3 separate regions of the Homo sapiens genome follow, and regions 2 and 3 are each linked to region 1. Evidence: promoter capture Hi-C in 16 types of primary human blood cells and fetal thymus (Javierre and others, 2016). All regions are on one chromosome and are shown on one strand. Each heading gives the region's core, a stretch centred on a gene start or on the middle of the fragment in contact. The rest is flanking DNA. Distances are from core to core; before and after follow the strand shown. Region 1 holds the start of COX14 (cytochrome c oxidase assembly factor COX14). Region 2 overlaps FAM186A (family with sequence similarity 186 member A). Region 3 overlaps FAM186A (family with sequence similarity 186 member A).

Evidence for each region. The method cuts DNA at HindIII sites, captures the fragments that hold promoters and counts their contacts. A CHiCAGO score of 5 or more calls a contact.
Region 2: a fragment that was not itself captured here is called in contact with the fragment with the promoter of COX14 in region 1 in 1 of 17 cell types (endothelial precursors); the score reaches 7.8 in endothelial precursors.
Region 3: a fragment that was not itself captured here is called in contact with the fragment with the promoter of COX14 in region 1 in 1 of 17 cell types (endothelial precursors); the score reaches 5.8 in endothelial precursors.

What each region holds. Positions count from the first base shown.
Region 1 is chr12:50,110,525-50,114,416 of GRCh38, forward strand. It overlaps COX14 (cytochrome c oxidase assembly factor COX14), which reads left to right and starts at 1,712. Exons shown (of 2, transcript NM_032901.4): 1 at 1,712-1,777. GPD1 (glycerol-3-phosphate dehydrogenase 1) reads left to right here. Exons shown (of 8, transcript NM_005276.4): 8 at 1-789. RefSeq lists enhancers at 1,152-1,201, 1,262-1,521, 1,742-1,981, 1,992-2,041. The HindIII fragment of the contact is 7,994 bases long and covers 684-3,892 here.
Region 2 is chr12:50,330,452-50,334,282 of GRCh38, forward strand. It overlaps FAM186A (family with sequence similarity 186 member A), which reads right to left. Exons shown (of 8, transcript NM_001145475.3): 5 at 3,460-3,652; 6 at 1,219-1,370; 7 at 122-307. Among named protein-coding and RNA genes, the nearest start is that of LIMA1, 49 kb to the left of the region's middle. The HindIII fragment of the contact is 1,830 bases long and covers 1,571-3,400 here.
Region 3 is chr12:50,349,112-50,352,562 of GRCh38, forward strand. FAM186A (family with sequence similarity 186 member A) reads right to left here. Exons shown (of 8, transcript NM_001145475.3): 4 at 1,218-3,451. Among named protein-coding and RNA genes, the nearest start is that of FAM186A, 46 kb to the right of the region's middle. The HindIII fragment of the contact is 1,279 bases long and covers 1,076-2,354 here.

The DNA of each region.
Region 1 (3,892 bases), core at 462-2,961:
TTCCTCAGCTGCTCCAGACCGGCCAGGGTAACCAGCTAACCATGCCTGGCATCTGGAAGCCAGCAGGCCAGAGGGTGGCCCAAAGGCTGATGAACGGTAGGGAAGGGTGAGCAGATTCCTATGTTGGTGGGCACCAATATTCCAAGGGCAGCTCTCTTTGCTGAATGAGGGCCTTCTCGTGAGGTACTGACAACACCAGCAACTCGAGAGCTGGGAAACTCAAGGAGGAGGAAGAAAATCAAAACCACCCTACTCCCTGGGGTGAGGAAAGAACAGGAGGGGAGGAGGAGGAGTGTGCTCTGCACTTGCCTTGCTCCAGGATGGGGTGGCAGCAGAGGAATGTCACAGGTCAGCAGCCTAGGCCTCCAGCTATAAATAGTCCGGAGGGCCCGAGAGGCTCCCGCCCGTCCAGCAGGGCTGTCAGCTTCCTGTGTGGCAGCACCTGGCACACTGGCTCTGGCCAGCATTATGCTAAAACCCTGTTACTCTCCAATGAACCAGGGAGGCGGGCTCCTCTCTGCGCCTATCCCTTGAGAATTCTGTCTTACCAGTGAAGGGTGGGGCTGCCCAGATCAGGCAGCAGGAGTGAGGGGCACAGTCACCCCAGGCCTTGCTGAGCCCAGGTCTGGGTACTGAGTGTCCAGAGCTGCCTCCCCAGGAGGTTAAGGTGGGGGCAAAGGGGAAGCTTCAAGCACTTTGCCTACTTTTGTTCACTCCCCAGTGCACTGTGACTCAGGCCTTCCCATCAGGCCTATTTGTCTACCCAATAAAGCGTGTTTTTTCCAGAAACAAGAAGAGTTGGGAGAGGGAGCTTCAGTGCATGTGGCAGTGCGTGTGCTGGCGCGTATCATTGCACGTATGTTTTCCCTCTTACCGTAGGAAAAATGAAAAAAGAAATCCCTCCTCCATAATCGCAGCTACTCCAGGGGTCAGCGGCGGTGCCCACTCAGTCCCCATCCCTCTCTCTCCCCTCCCGCCAGCGCCCCCTCCCGCCCTCGCCGCAAGCTGGCCCCGGCCTTGCCGGCCCTTCTTAGGGGCTTTATCATGCCTCCTGCAAGAATAGAGATCACACACGGGACGGAAACGTTAGACTCTCATCCCTTGTGCCCATTCCTTGGTCACGGGCCAAGCTGCCGCATCCTTAGCGGTCCAGGCATCGCGGTGCCCCTCGGGCCCCTACCTGGACTAGGCCCACAGCCGGGCTCTAGGGGGCGCGCGATCCACCTCCAGAAGGCCGGCTGCGAAAATCTACCCAGCTACTGGCGACGTCACCGCACCGTAGGCTGAGGATTGGCTGACTCTGATTTAGCATCCTAAAACTTCCGGTTCCAGAGCTTGGCTCGCCAAAGACCCTCCCTCGAGGGAGAGAAACCACAGCCCCCAGAATTCAGCGGGCCTCTCCGAGAGCACGGCGCGTCTGAGGATGCGTAGTAAGGATAACGGGCCCGGAAGCCGGAAGTTCAAAGCCGGCCTCCAGCCAGAGTGACGGCCTGCGCGGACTCCCGCCTTAGTGGGCGGAGTTGTGCCGCGTCTGATGCGCAGTTCCCTTTATAGCGCGGCAAGCCGAATCCTAGAGGCTAACCCGGCAGGTGGGAGGGAGAAAGTTGCTTTCTGCACCAATAGCTGAGGCGTTCAGGGTTGTCCAGGGACGCTACCCTCACGTGTCTGGTTCCGAGTGCTGCGTTCGGCTGTGCTGGGAAGTTGCGTAGACAGTGGCCTCGAGACCCTGCCTGCCTGAGGAGGCCTCGGTTGGATGCGAAGGAGCTGCAGCATCCAGGTACGCTGCCGGCTAGGGCCGAGCAGGGGCTGCCAGTCCCACTGCCTGCGCGCCCACCTGGGCCAGTCTCCGCTTGCCGCGTCCTCCCATCCCCTAGTCTGCAGGCCTGGTGCCCTTGAATTCACCCGCTTCTGTTGCGTTGCGGACCGCGAGCTGCACTGCTTCCTGCCCAAGCCCAAGCTCCTCGCAGCAGTAGGTCAGTCTTGCTAGAGCTCAGCGCTAATCCTGTCAAACCTCGACTCCTGCCTGGCGTCTCGACCCTCCACGCTCCAACTCTGCCTCTTCCTTGCTCTATAGACCTCTGCGTCCTGATAAGTGGCTCTCCGGGGCACCCTTCGTGCATATCGGCTATCCAGCTCCACCTCTTGACCGCTTTCACTTCCTGGAATGCTCTCACTGCTCCTCTTCTCCAGGCCATCCTTCTAAAAAGACAGTTCCACTCCCACCCCGATTCCCACCCCTACACCTTTCTGCTAAGTTTTCTCAAGCCCCCACCCTGTCTTTGAGCTGTTGTCTCTGAACTCTCACAGTGCCTCTCCATGAGACCATAAGCTCCTGTATGACAGAAGCCATGTTCTTTTTAGCGGCCTCCGTAGCATGATGTACGTTATGTTATGTTATGTTATGTTATGTTATGTTATGTTATTTTGAGACAGGGTCTTGCTTTGTCGCTCAGGCTGCAGGTGTGCGCCACCACGCCCGGGTAATTTTTAAAAAAAGGTTTTTTTTTTGTTGTTGTTGTTGTTGTTTTTAAATAGAGAAAAGGTCTCCCTATGTTGCCCAACCTGGTCTCCAACTCCTGAGCTCAAGCCATCCTCCCGCCTCGGCCTCCCAAAGTGTTGGGATTACCGGCGTGAGCCACCGTACCCGGCCGATGTACTACTCTCTAAGTGCCAAACAAAAAGTAGATAAAAGATGATGGATACCTTAAAAGCCCTGAGTTGACCACTATGCAGTGTATGCATGTAACAAAATCGCACTTCTACCCATACGTTTACGCAATTTTTTTTTTTTTTTTTTGAGACGGAGTCTTGCTCTGTCGCCCAGGCTGGGGTCCCGTGGCGGGATCTCGGCTCACTACAAGCTCCGCCTTCCGGGTTCATGCCATTCTCCTGCCTCAGCCTCCAGAGTAGCTGGGACTACAGGTGCCCGCCACCACGCCCGGCTAATTTTTTGTGTTTTTAGTAGAGATGGGGTTTCACTGTGTTAGCCAGGATGGTCTCGATATCCTGACCTCGTGATCCACCCGCCTCGGCCTCCCAAAGTGCTGGGATTACAGGCGTGAGCCACTGTACCCGGCCGTTATTTTATTTATTTATTTATTTGTTTGTTATTTTATTTATTTTTTTGAGACGGAGTCTCGCCCTGTCGCCCAGGCTGGAGTACAGTGGCGCGATCTCGGCTCACTGCAACCTCCGCCTCCCGGGTTCAAATGATTCTCCTGTCTCAGCCTCCTGAGTAGCTGGGATTACAGGCATGTGCCACCATGCCTGGCTAATTTTTGTATTTTTAGTCAAGACAGGGTTTTATCATATTGGCCAAGATGGTCTCGAACTCCTGACCTCAGGTTATCAGCCCACTTCTGCCTCCCAAAGTACTGAGATTACAGGTGGCTCACGCCCAGCCTTTTTTTTTTCTTTATTATCATTATTATTATTATTTTTAGAGACACAGTCTTGCTCTGCAAGTGCAGGGCCGTGATCACAGCTCACTGCAGCCCCAAACTCGTTGGCTCAGGCAAGCCTCCCACCCAAACCTCCCTAGTAGCTGGGACTGCAGGTGCATGTCACCACACCCAGCTATGGTTCTCAATTTTTATTCTAGCCTAACACACTGGAAAGATACAGTACACCTCCATCAGTGGCAGTGACTTGATTCAGCAGTGGTTTTCAACCAGGAAGGGGGATGTAGTTAAATGAAAAAAAAAAAAAAAAAAACAGGTGTTTCTGGAATTTTTTTTTTTTTGAGGGGTGGAGTTTCACTCGTTGCCCAGGCTGGAGTGCAGTGGCGCGATCTCAGCTCACCACAACCTCCGCCTCCTGGATTCAAGCGATTCTCCTGCCTCAGCCTCCTGAGTAGCTGGGATTACAGGCATGTGCCACCCCACGCCTGGCT
Region 2 (3,831 bases), core at 1,236-3,735, 220 kb after region 1:
CTCATACCAAACATTACTTTTGGTTGATGTACCTGGTGCTACAGGAGAAAGTCAAGTTAGGGAACCAAAAGGTATATGATCAAAGGCCCAATTACCAGAGTGCTTCCAGTCCATAACTTACCGTGATTGGAGGGATGCAAGAGATTTTCGGAAGGTAGACTGCACTTCTAACTGAAGCAGCCTGGGAATATCTGGGTACCCACCCAGCTGGGCCCAGAGTGAATGCATAGATGTCTTCTCTGCTATTGGGTAGCTTGAAGTGGACAGATCAACATTCCAGATGGCCTCTGTCTGGTCCTCTTGTTGCCTACAGAATCAGCATAAATTGGGAACGCCAAATTCTCCTGAGCTCCATAGCCCATCAAAATATATCTTATTCTCCCCTCTTCACTGCCACCTTGTCCTATAATGCCTTCCCCTTGCACTGACCAGCATTAGCTATGCCCACTTTGACAGAGAGATGGATGAAAAAGCAGAATTCGCTGAGTTACCAAAGCTGCATTTGCATGGCTTCACCTAGTAATCCATTTTAAAACTACCATTTTAGCTTCATGGCGTAGAGAGACCACATAACTTGCCCCCTTCCTTCCCAAAGCTCCTGCCTCCTTAAAAAAAAATAGAAGAAAAAGAGAAGATAATGCTTCTAAGTTTCTTTATTAAATATTCTTAAAAGAATTTGTTTTTTAGTAAGAAAGAATCAGCTTTATTTTTAGAGGAACTCACAATCCAATGTTAAATATTTAAGTAGAAATATATGTAAATTAACCTCTTGCCAATTTAGCTAAGGGAATTAATACTCTTTTTTTTTGAGACAGAGTTTCGCTGTTGCCCAGGCTGGAGTGCAATGGCACGATCTCGGCTCACCGCAACCTCTGCCACCCAGGTTCAAGCGATTCTCCTGTCTCAGCCTCCCAACTAGCTGGGATTACAGGCATGCACCACTATGCCGGGCTAATTTTGTACTTTTTTTAGTAGAGATGGGGTTTCTCCATGTTAGTCAGGCTGGTCTTGAACTCCCGACCTCAGATGAGTCACCTGCCTCGGCCTCCCAAAGTGCTGGGATTACAGGCATGAGCCACCGCGCCCAGCCTAATACTCCTTTAGACTCTCCATTGCACCATTTGATAATTGTGGAGAAAGGGAAGTTCTTGGGCAGGGAAAAAAAAATTAGGTCCCACATATCGTCCAAAGTTTAATATCAGTCTTTCTAGCACATACCTAAATTTCTTGCATATGTCAGAGGTTCTGTCCTCTTCCATTAGTAATTTTAAGAATGGCTTTTGAACAAATGTGGTAGAGGCAGGTATCTGCTTTTCTTCGATGATTAAGGGGATAGGTTGACTAAGATTCAATTCATGTATCTTTTTGAGCTATAAAAAAAAATAGATCAGAAAAAGGAAACCATGAAAAGAGACAGAATCTTTAGAAGGGTCTTCAGAGCTGGCCCTAGACTAAACTGTGACTCCTCCTTTTCCATGGATTTGCAAATCCTCTCCCTACTCCACCCACCTCCAACATGCATCATTTTAGAGGTGGCAGCTCTGCTACATAAAAACCTTTGTCCTACTTAAGCTTAAGTCCTGGTCCTCTTATTTTCTTGCTGTGAGACTTTGGGATAGTTGCTTAATTTATCTGCACTTCTTTCTCCTCATTTCTAAAACAGGGATAATAACACAGGGTTGTGAGAATTGTAAAACACAGTATATATGGAAGCACTTTATAAATTGTGATGCAGTATGCAACTGTAATGATAGCCAGCATTTACTAAATACTTAGTGAATGTCAGACACTGAACTAAGCATTTTCCATATATTAGCTGATTTGGTATTTATAACAACCTTATGCGGTATGTCTTATAATTACCCTTGTCTTACAGCAGGAAAATCTGAGGCTCAGAAAATGTAAGCGGCTTGCATAAAGTCACTTAGCTAGTATGTAGCTAGCCTGATTTGAACCCAGACAATCTGGTAGCGGAGCTAGCCATCTTGACCACCATGCTGATTCAGTGCAAAGTATTCATTCATATCTAACCTCTTATCCCTTTTGCTTTTTTTGTCTCCTTTCTCCAAGCCTTGATACCCATACCTCATCCTCTGGATTCTGGCTTCCCTGGCCCCAGACCCTTATTCCTCCTCTGAAATGCCCTAGGCATTGTGATTCCTGTTAGATAACGCATGTTGCTGCCAACCCATCTTGCTTTACTCTATGTACATTGGCCATATTTGCCAAATCAAAAAAAGGAGAATATTCATTTTTTTGACAAAGAGCTGTAATATTTAAAATATAACTGTTCTGGGCCGGGCACGGTGGCTCAAGCCTCTATCCCAGCACTTTGGGAGGCTGCCATGGGCGGTTCACTTGAGGTCAGGAGTCCAAGACCAGCCTGGCCAACATGGTGAAACCCCATCTCTACTAAAAATACAAAAATTAACCAGACATGGTGGCAGGCACCTGTAATCCCAACTACTCGGGAGGGTGAGGCAGGAGAATCACTTGAACCCAGGAGGCGGAGGTTGCAGTGAGCCGAGATCACGCCACTGCACTCCAGCCTGGGTGACACAGTGAGACCTCATCTCAAAAATAAATAAATAAATAAATAATAAAATAAAATATAACAGTTCTGAAAATTTACAATATATGTTTGACTTGGATTAGGCTCTGATGAGAAGCCTCTCTGTACCTTCCAAAGTAGCAAGTAAACTAATCTTATAAATTAATCGATTTTAAGGAAAGACAAGGATATACAGATATAAAATGTTTCTAGAACCACAGCTTGTAATATTTACTATAAGAACTCAGGCCAGGCGTGGTGGCTCACGCCTGTAATCCCAACACTTTGGGAGGTTGAGGCGGGTGGATCACCTGAGGTCAGGAATTCGAAACCAGCCTGGCCAACATGGTGAAACCCCATCTCTACTAAAAATATAAAATTTAGCTGGGCATGGTGGTGGGCGCCTGTAATCCCATCTACTCGGGAGGCTGAATCAGGAGAATCTCTTGAATCCAGGAGGTGGAGTTTGCACCGAGTCGAAATAGTGCCACTGTACTCCCTGGGAGACAGAGCAAGACTGTCTCAAAAAAACGAAAAACAAAGCAAAACAAAAAAAAAGGCCATTTGAAAGATGGAGGCGGAGATTGGAATTATGTGGCTACAAACTGAGGAATGCTAAGGATTGCCCATAGCCACCACAATCTAGGAGAGAAGCATGCAACAGAATGCCCTCTCAGAGCTTCTAGAAGGAACCAACCTGGCAGACACCCTGATTTCACTAACTTCTGGCCTCTAGAACTGTGAGAGAGTAAATTTCTGTTGTTTTAAGCTATGAAGTTTGTGGTAATTTGTTACAGCAGCCCAGGAAAGTAATATGACATGGTGTCTCCAGGTAAATGTCATTTACAAAGCTTACCACTTTCATGTTTTTACAACATGCTGGACAGAGGGAGTGGAAAGCAGGTTACCTGGTTGAATACGTGTATCATTTTCTTCAGGCACTGATTCCGTTTCTGCCCTAGAGACTTCTGCTTCTCAGTCCAGACCTGCATCACCTTTTTCCCGTAGTCATCAAGTCTGCTCAGCATCATGTGGAGGTTCCTGGCCTCATAGCCTTTCCCAGTATTTTGGATGGCTTTTAGTCGTTTCATTATGTTGTTCCTTGAAAAGATTAATAAAAATTAGAGCGATAATAGTTGCAGACCCTACTTCAACAAACTTGTCCTCAGTTTCTTTTTTTTTTTTGAGACGGAGTTTCGATCTTGTTGCCCAGGCTGGAGGTGCAATGGTGCAATCATGGCTTATTGCAACCTCCACCTCCTGGATTCAAGAAATTATCC
Region 3 (3,451 bases), core at 465-2,964, 240 kb after region 1:
ATGCTAAATCTTATTCATTCTTTCTATTTTTTTGTACCCATTAACCATCCCTACTTTCCCCCCACCCCCACTACCCTTTCTAGCCTATGGTAACCATCCTTCTCTTTTTTTTTTCCCTGAGACTGGGTCTTGCTCTGTCACCCAGGCTGGAGTGCAGTGGCGCGATCTTGGTTTACTGCAGTCTCAACCTCCTGGGGCTTGAGTGATCCTCCAAGCTCAGCTTCCTGAGTAGCTGGGACTACAGGCATGCACCATCATGTAGAGACAGGGTCTCAATTTGTTGTCCAGGCTTGTCTCAAACCCCTGGGCTCAAGTGATCCTCCCCCCTCAGACTTCCAAAGTGCTGGGATTACAGGCGTGAGTCACTGCACCTGTCCCATCCTTCTACTCTATGTCCATTAGTTCAATTGCTTTAATTTTTAGCTCCCACAAATAAGTGAGAGCATGTGAAGTTTGTCTTTCTGTGCTCAGCTTATTTCATTTAATATAATGACCTCTAGTTCCATTCATGTTGTTGCAAATGGCAGGATCTCTTTTTATTATTATTATTATTATTTTGAGACAGAGGCTGACTCTCTCACCCAGGCTGGAGTGTAGTGGCATGATCGGCTTATTGCAACTTCCACCTCCCGGGTTCAAGCGATTCTCCTGCCCTAGCCTCCCAAGTAATCCTGGGATTACAGGTGCACGCAACCATGCCTGTCTAATTTTTGAATTTTTTGCAGAGATGGGATTTCGCCATGTTGGCCAGGCTGGTCTTGAACTCCTGGCCTCAAGTTATCCACCTGCCTCAGCCTCCCAAAGTGCTGGGATTACAGGCATGAGACACTATGCCTGGTCTCATTCTTTTTTTATGCCATCTCCCATTTTAAAAATCATACATTTCTGGTGAACCAAAAATGATGAAAGAAATTCAGAATAACTGGAAACTTTTGAAATTGATGTTTTGGAGACCAACCATGATCCACAAAATATACTTGGCATCTCCGCTGGAGATATATATGGATGAAATGGATCACGTTATATGTCATTTCTTATTTTCCAAAAAATATATCTCCTTTTGCTATCTTAAACAAGCTTCCTTCCCATAGACCTTATATAAGGCAGTCCTTTAGAACATATGGCCTGACAAATATGAATATACTTCTGGGACAATGACAGAAAATATTTGCAATCAGAACTAAACCAGAAAACTAGACGTAAATAATTATATCTACCTGGCATGCTGGATCAGCCTATAGGCAATGTACTTGCGGAATAAGTATCCCAACTGAACTGTGTCCATATGAAGTATCTCAATTATGAGAGTCCTAGCCATTGTGTGTAGCTGTGAAGGGAGTCCACAAGTTTTTATAGCCTGATTTAATAGTATCAGGTTCTTCTTCTGAGCCTCCACATCAACAAAATACCTCTTTTCTTCAAGTTCTTGAGGAGAGGAAGGGGGCACCATTACTTTGGGTTTCTTGGTATCTGAAACTGAACTCAGTATCCAGGGCTTGTCTATAGGAGGGAATCGGGATTTCTGGTACCATTCCAAAGGTGAAATCTGTGATGTTCTGAGTAGAGTAGTGAGAGAAGATGGTGATGTTGTTGGCTTCATGAGAGTGAGAAGGGCCCTTTCATCAGTGTAAGGGGTTTGGTATACTGGTGTCCTATATTTGGTGAAATGGGACTGAAATGTTCTAAATGATTCTATAGCAAAAGTGTCTCGAAGTATCTGGGTTTCTTCGGAAGTGTCAGAGACCTCCGACATTTGGAACTTCTTAGTGGTGAAAGGAACTTGAGCTACCTTGAAATCTGGAGCACTAGGATGGATCAATACTGATTTAGATTTCAGAGAAGAAATAATTGCCAATCTTTTCTTAGCAACAGAAGGGGACCAACTTTTCTGGGGCTTTCCAGGGGCTGGGGACGGCCATAGTGTGGGAGGATGTCTAGAGGTGGGAGGGATCCATAATGAAGAAGCTCGCCCAGGAAGGGTCCATGTTGCCAGATGCTGCCCAGGGGTAGAAGGAGCCTGCAGATAGGGAGATTGCTCAGCAGTGGCAGGAGGCTGGAATTCCTGGAGCTGCTCAGAGAAGGTTAAGGGTCCAGATTCCAGGAGGTCCCCAGGGATGGAAGAGGCTTCAGGAACTAAGGGCTGCCCAGGAGAAAGAGGAGCCCAGAGACTTGGAATCTGTCCAGAAGTGGGTGGAACTCCAGCTATAAAGGGCTGCCCTGGAGTGGGAGGGGCCCGAGATATTGGGAGCTGCCCAGGGGAGGGAGGGGCCTGTGGTGCCGGGAACTGCGCAGAAGTGGATTGACCTCCGTATACCAGGGTCTGTCCAGAGGAACGAAGAGTCTGTGGTGCCCCAAGCTTCCCAGGCTCAGAAAGAATCCCCATTTCTAGGGGCTTCCCAGGGGCAAAGGGGCCTTGGTTGAGGGGAACCCTTGATATCTGCAAAGGAGTAGAAGAGACCCCGAATATAGAGGACTTCTCAGCAGTAGGAGCTGATGATGCCAGGGACAGCCTAAGACTTGGAGACAATCTTGATATGATGGATTGCCCAGTGGGGAGAGAAGCCTTCGATTTCTGAAATGGTCTATGGGACCACTGGACTTGCTTAAGGGTGAGGGGCGATCCCAAGGTATGGGCTTTATCTAAGGTGAGAGGAACCCCTAACTTCAATAACTGTTCTTGAGCCTGTTCTAAGTTCATAGGGGACTCCAAAGCGTGGGTTTGCTCAGAGGTAAGAGTGACAGCTGACACCCAGGCATTTACTGGGGTGATGGGGACTCCCAGTGCCTGGGCCTGCTGAGGGGTGAGAGTGATCCCCTGAGCCTGCGCCTGCTGAGGGGTGAGAGAGATCCCCAGAGCCTGGGCCTGCTGAGGGGTGAGAGGGATCCCCTGAGCCTGCGCCTGCTGAGGGGTGAGAGGGATCCCCAGTTCCTGCGCCTGCTGAGGGGTGAGAGGGATCCCCAGTTCCTGCGCCTGCTGAGGGGTGAGAGGGATCCCCAGGGCCTGGGCCTGCTGAGGGGTGAGAGGGATCTCCAATTCCTGAGCCTGCGGAGGGATGAGAGGGATCCCCAGGGCCTGGACCTGCTGAGGGGTGAGAGGGATCCCCAATTCCTGAGCCTGCGGAGGGATCAGAGGGATCCCCAGGGCCTGGGCCTGCTGAGGGGTGAGAGGGATCCCCAATTCCTGAGCCTGCGGAGGGATGAGAAGGATCCCCAGGGCCTGGGCCTGCTGAGGGGTGAGAGGGATCCCCAATTCCTGAGCCTGCGGAGGGATGAGAGGGATCCCCAGGGCCTGGGCCTGCTGAGGGGTGAGAGGGATCCCCAATTCCTGAGCCTGCTGAGGGGTGAGAGTGATCCCCAGCTCCTGAGCCTGCTGAGCGGTGAGAGGCATCCCCAGGGCCTGGGCCTGCTGAGGGGTGAGAGTGATCTCCTGAGCCTGTGCCTGCTGAGGGGT